2 separate regions of the Homo sapiens genome follow, and region 2 is linked to region 1. Evidence: promoter capture Hi-C in human tissues and cell types (Jung and others, 2019). All regions are on one chromosome and are shown on one strand. The core of a region is centred on a gene start or on the middle of the fragment in contact, and the rest is flanking DNA. Distances in the headings are between cores, read along the strand shown.

Region 1 (5,731 bases), core at 1,543-4,042:
GCGTGGTAGTGCATGCCTATAATCCCAGCTACTCAGGAGGCTGAGGCAGGAGAATCGCCTGAACACAGGAGGCAGAGGTTGCAGTATGCTGAGATCACGCCATTGCACTCCTGCCTGGGCGACAAGAGTCAAACTTTGTCTCAAATGAATAAATAAATAAACAAACAAACAAACCCAGGCTATATTATCCAGCACATCAGTTCTCAAAAGGAAGTAATTCTAGGTCTAAAGCTTCTCTGTAGATAACATCAGGTTCACGGACCTGATGGAAAAAAATGGCTACAAAAGTAGGACAGGACTATTTCTCTAATTTTTTTGTCACATGCAAACATTAACATGGGCTTTACATACTCTCCTAAATATACATATGCACAGAACAGTCACCTGTGCCTTAGACTTTCTAAGAGTGTGCTACACTAAATTATGGATAAGAGACTACGTGCTGCTTCACCTTTCAAATAAAAGGCTTTTCAGTAAAAGGAAGACAATGACGCAGTGATTCTGCATTTGGATTCGGTGTGATAAACATTAACCGTATCGCATCACATGCCGACCTTCTCCAACCTTTTAAGTTCTTTCCTAACGCAGTTTAAATTATTTTTTCTACACTTTAGGGCGACACAGAACTTCAAGATTTAGCGGAAATGGAGCGCTCTATTTTTTAAGTTGGAAAAACTAAAAGGTCTAGCTTGGGTAACTTCTTCACAGCATAAGGGATAGTATTTTATACTAATAAAAATATCCTTTATGTCAATAACTATAATTTATTGAACACTTTATACGTGTGTTCTACACACTCGTTTCTCTTCACCTCAACCCTGAAGAGACAACGGAAATTATCATCACTTCAGCATGGACAGGTTCAGAAGTTAAATACTCTCTCAAGGTCAGAAGCAGCAGAGGCAGGATTCAAACCTTAGCCTTTCCCACTCCAAAGCCAAGACTCTTAATTGCCTTTGAGGGCACTAAGCTTTGCAAAAGAAATCTTTAGAATCCAAGTGGAAAAAAGATGTGTTGGTAAACGCAGTGCTGAGATATGCTATAGAGAAGTGACCAGTAGAGCAATCAAAAAGGTTAGTAATATCGAAGAAGTCCTGCCACAGAATTCCTGGGCAGCACATATGCTTGGTTCTGTAAACCTGAAAGAACTTGCAGTATAAAGTTATTAGAAGCCTTCCAAACTACATCAACAAACAAATCACTTACTTTCATAAACATGTCTGGCAGAGAGGTCACAGATAACTCCAATTATAATAGAAAAGCAAAAATAATTACATTAAGAAACATTTTTACAGAAATAGTCTTACTTTTCTTGATTTCCTAAGTTGACAGGTATAATTGATTCTATAAAGGCAAGAATGTGTGATGAAGATGATGCAGATGCGTGCAAACACACACACGACGGGAATTACATGCTGCATCTGTCACCCTAAGTTAACCAAGGTTCTGTAAAACACAACCCTCACCTTTTCTGGATGTGGTTCATAACAAGGCTGCCACTGTGGTAGCCTAGGAAAAACCTCACTACTTCCGAGAAATTATGAGAAAGCTCGTTAATTAAGGCTAACCTATGAAAAACTATTTAACACCAAATCATGAAAAACATTTCGCGGTAAGTCATCAAAATCCTTAAAGATCCCATAAATTTGAACCTATTTCAGAAGGATAAAAAAGTAGTAATCACACACATTATGTAAGAAATAGGTCACAGCGTAAGTATTCGCTTACTTGCCCCTATGTAAAATTCTTTGAGTCCAATGATTTTAATTATTAGAATCTAAATTAATCAGTTTTATTACAGTCACAGCTTATTAACCCCATAAAGAAAAATGGGCACATCCAAGATGCCAAAGATTTATTAAAAACAATTTAAAATACATGATGATTTTAAGTCTTCAACAATTTGGTTGTTTTAGGGAAATATTTAAGACCCGCAGACTGTTTGTCATGCCCTGGCCTCAAAGGAGTTTCACGACCGAGTTCTCCAGGTAAAAGTTAATGTATGCGGGTCCCTAAAGGAAGACCCCAGCCTTCCATTCCCCTGGAGCCTGCGGGCGGCGGGGAAGGAGGGTTCTGACAACAGGGTAAGGGAGAGGAGCGCAAACCGCCGGCCTCCGCCCCGCCACCCCCAGTGCGGCCACCGCTCATGCCAACACATCCCGGGAAAGCCGGGTGCACCGACTCCGCAAGGTCACCCGTGAAGAGGCGACTTTACATAATCTCCCACCGCGCCGCCAAGGCACCTGCGCGCCGCGGCAGCAGTGCAGCCGCGGTCCCCTTCCTGCAGCACGGGCGCGAGATGATGCGGGGGCGGCGAGCAGCGCTACCAGGCAGGACGCCGGGGACCCGCGGGAAGGCAGCGCGCACCAAGCCGGGGGCGGGGGACCGAGGGTGGACGCCCAGACCGGGGATGCCCCGAGCCGCCGCCTTGGCTTGCGAGGCGGGGCGCGGCCGGCGCGGGCGAGGCTCGGTGCCGAACTCCCCAAGCTGCCGCCGGACGGCCAGCGCCGAGCGCGCCCCTCGCAGCTTCGCCCCGGACTGCCCCGGGACGCACCTGCCGCGCGCCTTACCTGAGTGGCTTTATGGAACTGCTTCTTGAGGCCGGCCACCGACATGGTGCAGGAGGCCGCGCTGGCGGCTGCTGTGCGGGAGGGAGGAGGCGGAGGGGGACTGGAGGGCCGAGCGGGGCGGCGCGCTCCCCTGGCCGCCTCTGGTCGTGCCGCCGCCGGGGCTATGGGCGCGAGGGCGCGGAGCCTAGCGGGACACGGGCTCTTGCGGAGAAACACTCTGACGTCAAGGGCGGGTGATGCGGCCTCTTAAAGGGGACGCGGGAAGCCCCGCCCCAAGCGCGGGAACGCCCAGGCAGGTGCTGTGGCGCGCGGTACCTGGATGCTGGCGCCAACTGCGGGGATGTGGCTCAGCGGCACCCGCTGGCGGATCCCTAGTCAGCGGGCCGAGGACGTCCTCCTGTCCCGGGGTTGGTGTTCCTGCCCCCGGGGGCTGCGGACGGGTCGCTGCAGATTGGCAGCCCAGGCACCCGCAGGACTCAGGTGACTTGCTGGGCTTCCAGGTAGCCGCGGCGGCGCTGCCTGCAGACGGCCCTCCTGCCCTTTGAGCCTGGCGTCTCTGCGCCGCAGCCTGAAAAAGACTGGCCTTCTATCTGGGCTAATGAATAAGTCATTGCTCCTTCTATGCCTTGCCCTGACTGGTGGGTCACAGAAAACATTTCTCTGCCCTGGTTTCAATATCCCTTAAGCCCATCTTACCTTAGGGAAAGTCACACACGCGTTTTCCCCCTTGTCTGATACAATTTAATGACTTAAAAAGAAGAACAGGAACCCTTAAGCCTGGACGGATAAATAGAATTGAAGTCTTACTACAAAACTAGCGTTCAATCCTCTGGTTACAGAAATGAAAAAGCCCAAATGTGATCTTGTTGTTATGCTTGTGGATTTAGGGTTTCCGGTCCGATAAAAATCAAAATATAATGTGAAAAAGCATGATACTAAGTTATATACAGATGCTTCATATGTAACCAAGGAGGTATGGCTGGCTAAAGTGAAACTAATAGATGACTTGGGAGCAGAGCAGCACTAAATGCCTTCTGTGCTCTGGTACTTAACCAAGTCTGGTTTTTCTAGGACTGAGGAGGTGGTCAGAAAGAACTTAGACGCTGTCCCCGTATGTGGACCAAAGTGATAAGAAGGAGAAGCCAAGATGGGAGAAATTGCCAAGGATGTGTAGAGACTGCAAGGCCAAATGGGAGTCCTAGAAATACTTTTTCTGTCTCCGCAACTCCTGCAGCCTGATAGGAGCCACAGACCCATCCCCACTCTTCTAGGCACTGCGGCTTGGGCACAGGGTGAACACCTGCTACAAAAGGGTCCTCCATCCGTAGAGCTACCAGTCATGGTCCTTCTTGATAATGTGAACTGACACACACAAAGGCAGAGTCAAGCAGTGGTGGGCACTGGAGCAGTAGAGCGCATGGACTAGGGACGCAGGCTGCAAAGGGAGGCAGATGAAAGGAGCTATTCTCCAGTGTGGTAGCCCTTACCACTGTTCATATACCTTTCCCTACATGGCAGAATTGCACTTTCCAAACCTCTTGTTAAGTGGAGGCATGGTTACAAGTTTTGACTAGAGGTTTAAGAGGAAAAGTGACTGTCACTTCTGCAGCAGCAATATGAGATGTATGAGATGCCGCAAAGCTTTCTTTTCCTCGGCCGCAATATTCTAGAAAGCTGTGGTCTGTCAGCCAGTATCCAGAGTGAGACTAAAGCAGTGCAGAGTCCCCACCTGACGTTCAATGGGCATGTAGCATCAGTGAGAAACCTGAGTAATTTTAATCCACTGAGGCTCCGGTTGTTAGGAATAAACTTTTTTCTCTATGTTTCCAATTTTTAAAAAGGCTACCCATTACTTGCATAATAGAAAAAAAAGTATTTTATAGTTAATTTTTACTACCAGGTCCCTGATCTGAACAATAAAGCATTTTCATAAGACAGGGCTTTGTTGAAGCTGCCAAAAGATAGAGCAATTGATCTACAAAGTGGAAGGGCCTGGGATGGATAGGAGCTCTGCTCTCTAACAGTGAAAGGTGTGAAATGGGGGCCTGAATTGCCTCCTTGGAACTTTGAATACTTAACTGAGCCCTACATTATAAAAAAGGCAGTTTCTATCTTTCCCTGGTTCTTCATCCACCAACCTGGAAGTCTCATGCTGCTTAACTTCAAAGAAACTACCTTGGGAGAAAAAAACTACTTAAGGGCATTACATTAAATCCTTTGGAAACCATTGATTTAGTCGCCCAGGCATCCTCTGCACCTCATCTTATATGGTTTGGCTGTGTCCCCACCCAAATCTCATCTTGAATTGTAACTCTCACAATTCCCACGTGTCGTGGGAGGAACCCAGTGGGAGTGATTGAATTATGGGGGTGGGTCTTTCCTACACTGTTCTCGTGGTAGTGAATGAGTCTTACAAGATCTGATGGTTTTAAAAACAGGAGTGTCTAGTTCAACCATTGTGGAAGTCAGTGTGGCGATTCCTCAGGGATCTAGAACTAGAAATACCATTTGACCCAGCCATCCCATTACTGGGTATATACCCAAAGGACTATAAATCATGCTGCTATAAAGACACATGCACACGTATGTTTATTGCGGCATTATTCACAATAGCAAAGACTTGGAACCAACCCAAATGTCCAACAATGATAGACTGGATTAAGAAAATGTGGCACATATACACCATGGAATACTATGCAGCCATAAAAAATGATGAGTTCATGTCCTTTGTAGGGACATGGATGAAATTGGAAATCATCATTCTCAGTAAACTATCGCAAGAACAAAAAACCAAACACCGCATATTCTCACTCATAGGTGGGAATTGAACAATGAGATCACATGGACACAGGAAGGGGAACATCACACTCTGGGGACTGTTGTGGGGTGGGGGGAGGGGGGAGGGATAGCACTGGGAGATAAACCTAATGCTAGATGACGAGTTAATGGGTGCAGCACACCAGCATGGCACATGTATACATATGTAACTAACCTGCACAATGTGCACATGTACCCTAAAACTTAAAATATAATAATAAAAGAAAAAAAAAACAAACAGGAGTTTCCCTGCACAAGCTCTCTTCTCTTGTCTGCTGCCATGTGAGAGGTGCCTTTCACCTTCTGCCATGATTGTCAGGCCTCCCCAGCCAGGTGGAACTGTG
Region 2 (5,731 bases), core at 1,389-3,888, 530 kb after region 1:
AGAGCAGGCTCACTCTACTTGTACAGTCCAATCAGAGTCTTTGAACTTATACAGAGGGTCTTTGGTCCATCACTGTCACTGCTGAGATGTACACTGTCTAAGGCAGCCTAGTCCATTTTGAATGAAGGCAGGTGTCTCCAGTCCTTCAGGTCTAACATAGACCCCCAAGTCTCATGTTGCTCCTAGGCAGCCTTGCCTTCCAGTCTCATGAAGTGCACCATGCAGGCAACTCATCAGTAAACAAATTTAACCTGAGCTTCTGCTGGGCTCACAAATCCCCAAGACTGTCTCTTTCTCAACCTCTGCCTTCTCACTTTAGTTCAGTCCATTCTGACTTTTCCAACTCCCAACAGCCCTTATTAATCTCTTCAATGGCCCTGAACTTCTACTTACCTGTAGGAGGAGTGAGGTAATATACAGTGTGCTAAGAACCTTGGAATCATATTGGCACTCTGTTTTGGGGGGAGCAGCATGTCAGGGAAGCCGATGCTTTATTCTTCTTGGGTTAGCCTACAGCTGGAGAAAAAAAAATCCCAAAATTACACAAAACCCCAAACCAAAAAATAAAATAAAACAAACAAAAATAATGTGGGGTATTTTCCCTTAATAGCTCATTCTCTTACCATATTTTAGTAATACTTAATTAGAATTTATCAATACGTAGCACTTACTCATAAGCATAAATAAAGGCTTATGGGAATGTTTACTCTTAAAGATTTTTAGAAACAACTTTCTTTTTTGATTAGAGGTTCATGGTGAGATCACTGCTGGGCTGAAGATGATACTTTGAGTAACAATGAATCGGGATGGGAGGTGGTCACAGACACTGCTTGCTTCTTTTTCTTGTCATTTCCCCTCTACCTGCTGAAGATGTTGCTGGCTATTTCCTCCAGAACCTGAGCTAGAATGGCCAGGATCCTGCTCTGCCTTTAGCTCGGGCTACAGACTCCCTCCTTTCCCAAGATGCAAAACCTTCATCCCACTCCCACACTATATCATCTCACGGGCTCCCCATTCTTATCTCCCTCCAACTGTCGGCAGGGTCAGGGCCTCAGGCCACTTCGCAACAGGGCTGTCTGCTTTGAGGACTAAAGAAGCTTCACTAGAAGTAGAGATTTATTAAGGAGTGGTAATCAGCTCCTGCAGGTGGGTGTAAGCCAAACAAAACCCACTGTCAGTTTAATTTCCAAGAAGAGATGGTGGATACATCTTTTTTTATTCATATGGACCAAAGAAATTACTGAGAGTGGCAGAGGGTAGTGTATTAGTCTGTTTTCACATTGCCATGAAGAACTACTTGAGACTGGGTAATTTATGAAGAAAAGAGGTTTAATTGACTCACAGTGCTGCATGGCTGGGAAGGCCTCAGGAAACTTACAATCCTGGCAGAAGGCAAAGGGAAAGCAAGGCACATCTTAATGACAGCAAGAGAGAGACAGCAAAGAAAGGCGCACACTTTTAAACCATCAGATCTCATGAGAACTCCCTCACTATCATGAGAACAGCATGGGAGAACCACCCCCATGATCCAACCACCTCCCACCAGATCCCTCCCCCGATACGTGGGGATTGCAATTTGAGATGAGATTTGGGTGGGGACACAGAACCAAACCATATCAGGTGGACTTAGCAGGAGGTAGATATTGGATTGGTGTAAGGAAGAACTCAAATGAACCCAAGTGAACTCAATGGAGCTAACTGCTTCAGACACTGGAGATGCAGGGAGACCATGTATTACAGACCAGGGAAATTAAAGACTTTTTTTTTTTTTTTTTTTGGCTGCAAAGCACTCATTCTCTTTTCTGGCAATAGCACACTGATTTTCTTTCAGAGAACCATTCTTTCACCTCTCTCTCTTCATAAAATTAACGTGAAACTGTTCCCTGGCTAAAAGAATTAACAGATAATTTGGGGGTGGAGAGCTATTCAGGTCTTCTTATCCACTTCGCCACAGTAATGATTCCAGGATAAGCACATGACCCAAGTTGGTCCAGTCAGATTAAATTCTGAGACTTTTGCTAAAATTATTAAAGGAAAAATTTCTTCCCTCTTATGTAGTTTCTAAACTACTAGGAACAACCCTAAAAAAATAAAGGCCCATCTAAGAATAAAACCAAATAGAGGAAAACAAAAACAAAGAGCTGAAAGAGGAAGATTGATTCCTGATGATACCTTTTAGCCCCTGGATCCAGCTATGCCTGAAACCATTACTGCCAGTGAATTTTTCAGTCATGACAATCAATTGTCTTTTTTTGCTTAAGCCAGTTTGAGTTGCATGCCTTTCTATAATGTAACTGTTTTCTGTCAGTTAGAGAATCTAACTGATACAAGGAATGCCAAAGTGTTAGACAATGAGCTAGATGAGGTGATTCTAAAATTCAGTGAGTTGTTCTAATGATGGCTTTTTGTTATAAAAGTCATACATGTTAATTAAATTTTAAAATTGGAGAAACCAAAGGGGTATAAAGAAGAGAACAAATCACTCAGATTTACATTTCCTTATCCAGCAATAAAATATTGAGGATGAATGGACAAATAGGTAGGTAGACTTAATAATATATTATGAGCATATTCTTATGACCTTGCATATTTGTAGCAATTAATTATCTATGATGGTGTAGCATTCCATTTTATGGATATGGATCTATCTGTTTTGCTATTGTTGAGCATTTGAATTCTTTCCATTTTTCTCTATTACAAATAATGCTTTATTAACCTCTTTGTACATAAATTATTGTGTACATCTCTTATTTCCTTAAGACAAATTCCTGAAATAAGAATTATTGGATAACCACTATAAATAACTTTGAAACTATGAATATGCCTAAATTACTCTACAGGAAAGTTGTATATTCCCTCCTAGTATCAAAGAAGCCAGGCACAAAAAGAGCATTTTTTGTATGATTCCGTTTACATAAAATATTCTCACTAGGCAAATATATAGAGATGGAAAGTAGAAACCCCCCAGGGCTAGGGGGTTGGGAGAAAACGGGGAGTGACTTTTAGTGGGTACAAAAGTTTCTTTTTGAAGCGATAAAAATATTACACACTTAATTGTGGTAATGTTTGAACAATTATGTGAATATCTAAAAACCATTAACTGTCCATTTTAAATGGGTGAATGGTGTGGTAAATTATATCCCAATAAAATCAGTTAAAAATAAAGCTGAGAATGTAAATCATTTTTCTAGCATATGGGTTACAAATATTTGTCTTAGGCCTGATTTTGTTTATGGTGGTTTTTGTGGGGTACAGAAAAACTAAATATTCATGTGGTAAAATCTCTTAATTTTCATGGGCTTTTTTTTCTTTGCATGCTAGGAAAGACCATCCTACCATTATAATCAGAAAAATATCTATATATTCTTCTAGTTCTCTTTGAGTTTGATTTTTTTTTTACATTTAATTCCTTTGGAATGTGTTTTACATATTTTTGTAACTGTTTTGAGGGCTTTTACTGGATGGTGTTCTTAACCTCAGCTTTTCTTTTCCTTTTCTTTTTTTTTTTTTTTAATATCGGAAAAACATGATGATCAGTAGTTTCAGTGCCCCTAATCTAACTTTCTCTTTCTTTGTCTATTTTGTATTCAGACTGGAATATGGCTTTAGCTGCTGTGATAAATCAGGAACCGCCTCCCCCTGACCCCACCCCACCCCTGCATCCTGCAAATTACACTTGGCAAATTATATTGTTGGATATGTTACTTGTTGAGTTGACTTCAGAGCTATAATCTGGAAGTTTGTCTAATTGGACTGATTAGTTTTGGTCTTGTGGTCATGAAAGAACCAAGAAATAAGTCTGAAATATCAGATACATTCATCAGCCAAGATAGGGAGGTGTTGATGGCTTCCCTTTTATGTAACTCCAAATGGCTGCGGCATGTTTGGCTCATATTCTTTTGATTTGTGATTTAATTTTTACAAACTGTAGGAAGAAAATTGCTGCCAATGTTATGGTTTGAAGAGCTGGCTTTTCTATCCAAACACACAGAAAATGTAGTATAATGACTGGGCCCAGATAATGAGGCAGGAGGAGGGAAAGTAGAAGGTTGGCAAGAGAGCGTGTCCCTTTCTGCCATTTTGTGGGAAACCAGAAATGGCAAAGAATGAGAGTAAAAATATGCTCATTATTCCTGTCTTCAAAGGCTTCCTCAGTCTCTAATGAGCACTGTGTTGCTTCTTCACTTTTTTAAATGGCATTTAGCATGAGAGACACCACCTGAGGACATTTTCTAGACCTCAGAGAACTGTGCCAACTCAAGCATAGTAACATTTAAGGTCCTGCTGATGACACTGTCCTTCCCCAGATACAGGATCCCTCTCTTCCATTAAGAAACCAGGACTTGAGAGTATTACACTAAAATAAGACACTGACTTCTCTTCACTAGCAAAGGACTTCAAAAATTGACCTGGGCCCCACGCTGTCCTCAGCCCTTTGCAGTCTGAGTTCTCACCACCCAAATCACACTACATTTTCCAAAGTGACTGATTTCTTCTTGTTCACACATCACATGGCCTTTCCTCCTTTCTTTAGTCTTCATTCTCTCCCGAGGAAGCAGAGATGCCCTTGCCTGTTCCCTCCTTGTGATTCTCATCCTCCCTTGCCTCAGGAGTACCTTATATTCTTTGGGTCCACAGGGTGATGTGGTGAGGAGTACAGGCTGTGGACTCAAATCCTGAGTTGTGAACCTTAATGTCTCAGTAACTTGGTGACTCCATGTGCAACTGGGGAGAGTAACTGTGGCCACCTCATCCAGCTGTATTAAACGAGTTAATATATATAAAGACCTTAGAACAGTGCCTGCCGCAGAGTCCGCGTTTATACAGAGCTCACTGCTATGACTATCCCCACTACTGCTAGAGTTGTTGTTACGGCTTTAGCGGTTATATTTACTACTGTAGTATTTTCCTCCTACCTCTCTGATGCCTTTTCATTGGTCTCTTCTCAGCCCCTTCTGTCTTTCTTCAGCCTCCCAGGTGTTTGCAGGTCTTGGGCCTCATCTCTCTCCCCTGCTCCATTGGGGAAATCTCACTGAGTCAGGCACCTCTTTTGTGTCCCCCTCAGATCCTCTCAACTCCACTGTCTCCTCCAGCCAATGTTGTGATGACCATGTGCTCACAGACATTGACCAGGTTCACACTGGTGCAACCACAGCACCTCACTGTGGCTCCCTAACAGGCATCTCCTGCTTCTCATAATCGGCTTCTCTGTTGGATCACCTGCAGGAATCCTGCATAGAGACATGTAGAGAGAGGGGGACGGTTTGAAGAAGATGAGAAATGGAAGGGTCCATTGAAAAATAAGCTTTTCAAGACTGGGCGTGGTGGCTCACGCCTGTAATCCCGACACTTTGGAAGGCCAAGGCAGGCAGATCACCTGAGGTCAGGAGTTCAAGACCAGCCTGGCCAATATGGTGAAACCCTGTCTCTACTAAAAAAAAAAAAACAAAAATTAGCAGGGTGTGGTGGCGGGCGCCTGTAATCCCAGCTACTTGGGAGGCTGAGGTATGAGAATCACTTAAACGCAGGAGGCGGAGGTTGCAGTGAGCCAAGATTGCGCCACTGCACTTTAGCCTGAGAGACAGATTTTCGAGACTCCGTTTCAAAAAAAAAAAAAAAAAAAAAAGAAAGAAAAAAAGAAAAGAAAAGAAATAGAAAGAAAAATAAGCTTTCTGGCCAGGTGCAGTCACTCACACCTGTAATCCCAGCACTCTGGGAGGCCAAGGCAGGC

The links. Contacts are between HindIII fragments. The study calls those that stand out against the background at their distance.
Region 2: a fragment that was not itself captured here is called in contact with the fragment with the promoter of SH3GL2 in region 1 in 1 of the 25 tissues and cell types used here (hippocampus).

The regions. Positions count from the first base shown.
Region 1 is chr9:17,576,127-17,581,857 of GRCh38, reverse strand. SH3GL2 (SH3 domain containing GRB2 like 2, endophilin A1) reads right to left here and starts at 2,792. Exons shown (of 9, transcript NM_003026.5): 1 at 2,571-2,792. The coding sequence starts at 2,615. RefSeq lists a silencer at 3,782-3,980. The HindIII fragment of the contact is 4,711 bases long and covers 602-5,312 here.
Region 2 is chr9:17,043,704-17,049,434 of GRCh38, reverse strand. It overlaps LOC105375983 (a long non-coding RNA gene), which reads right to left. Exons shown (of 3, transcript XR_001746628.1): 3 at 1-516. Among named protein-coding and RNA genes, the nearest start is that of CNTLN, 88 kb to the left of the region's middle. The HindIII fragment of the contact is 5,698 bases long and covers 1-5,487 here.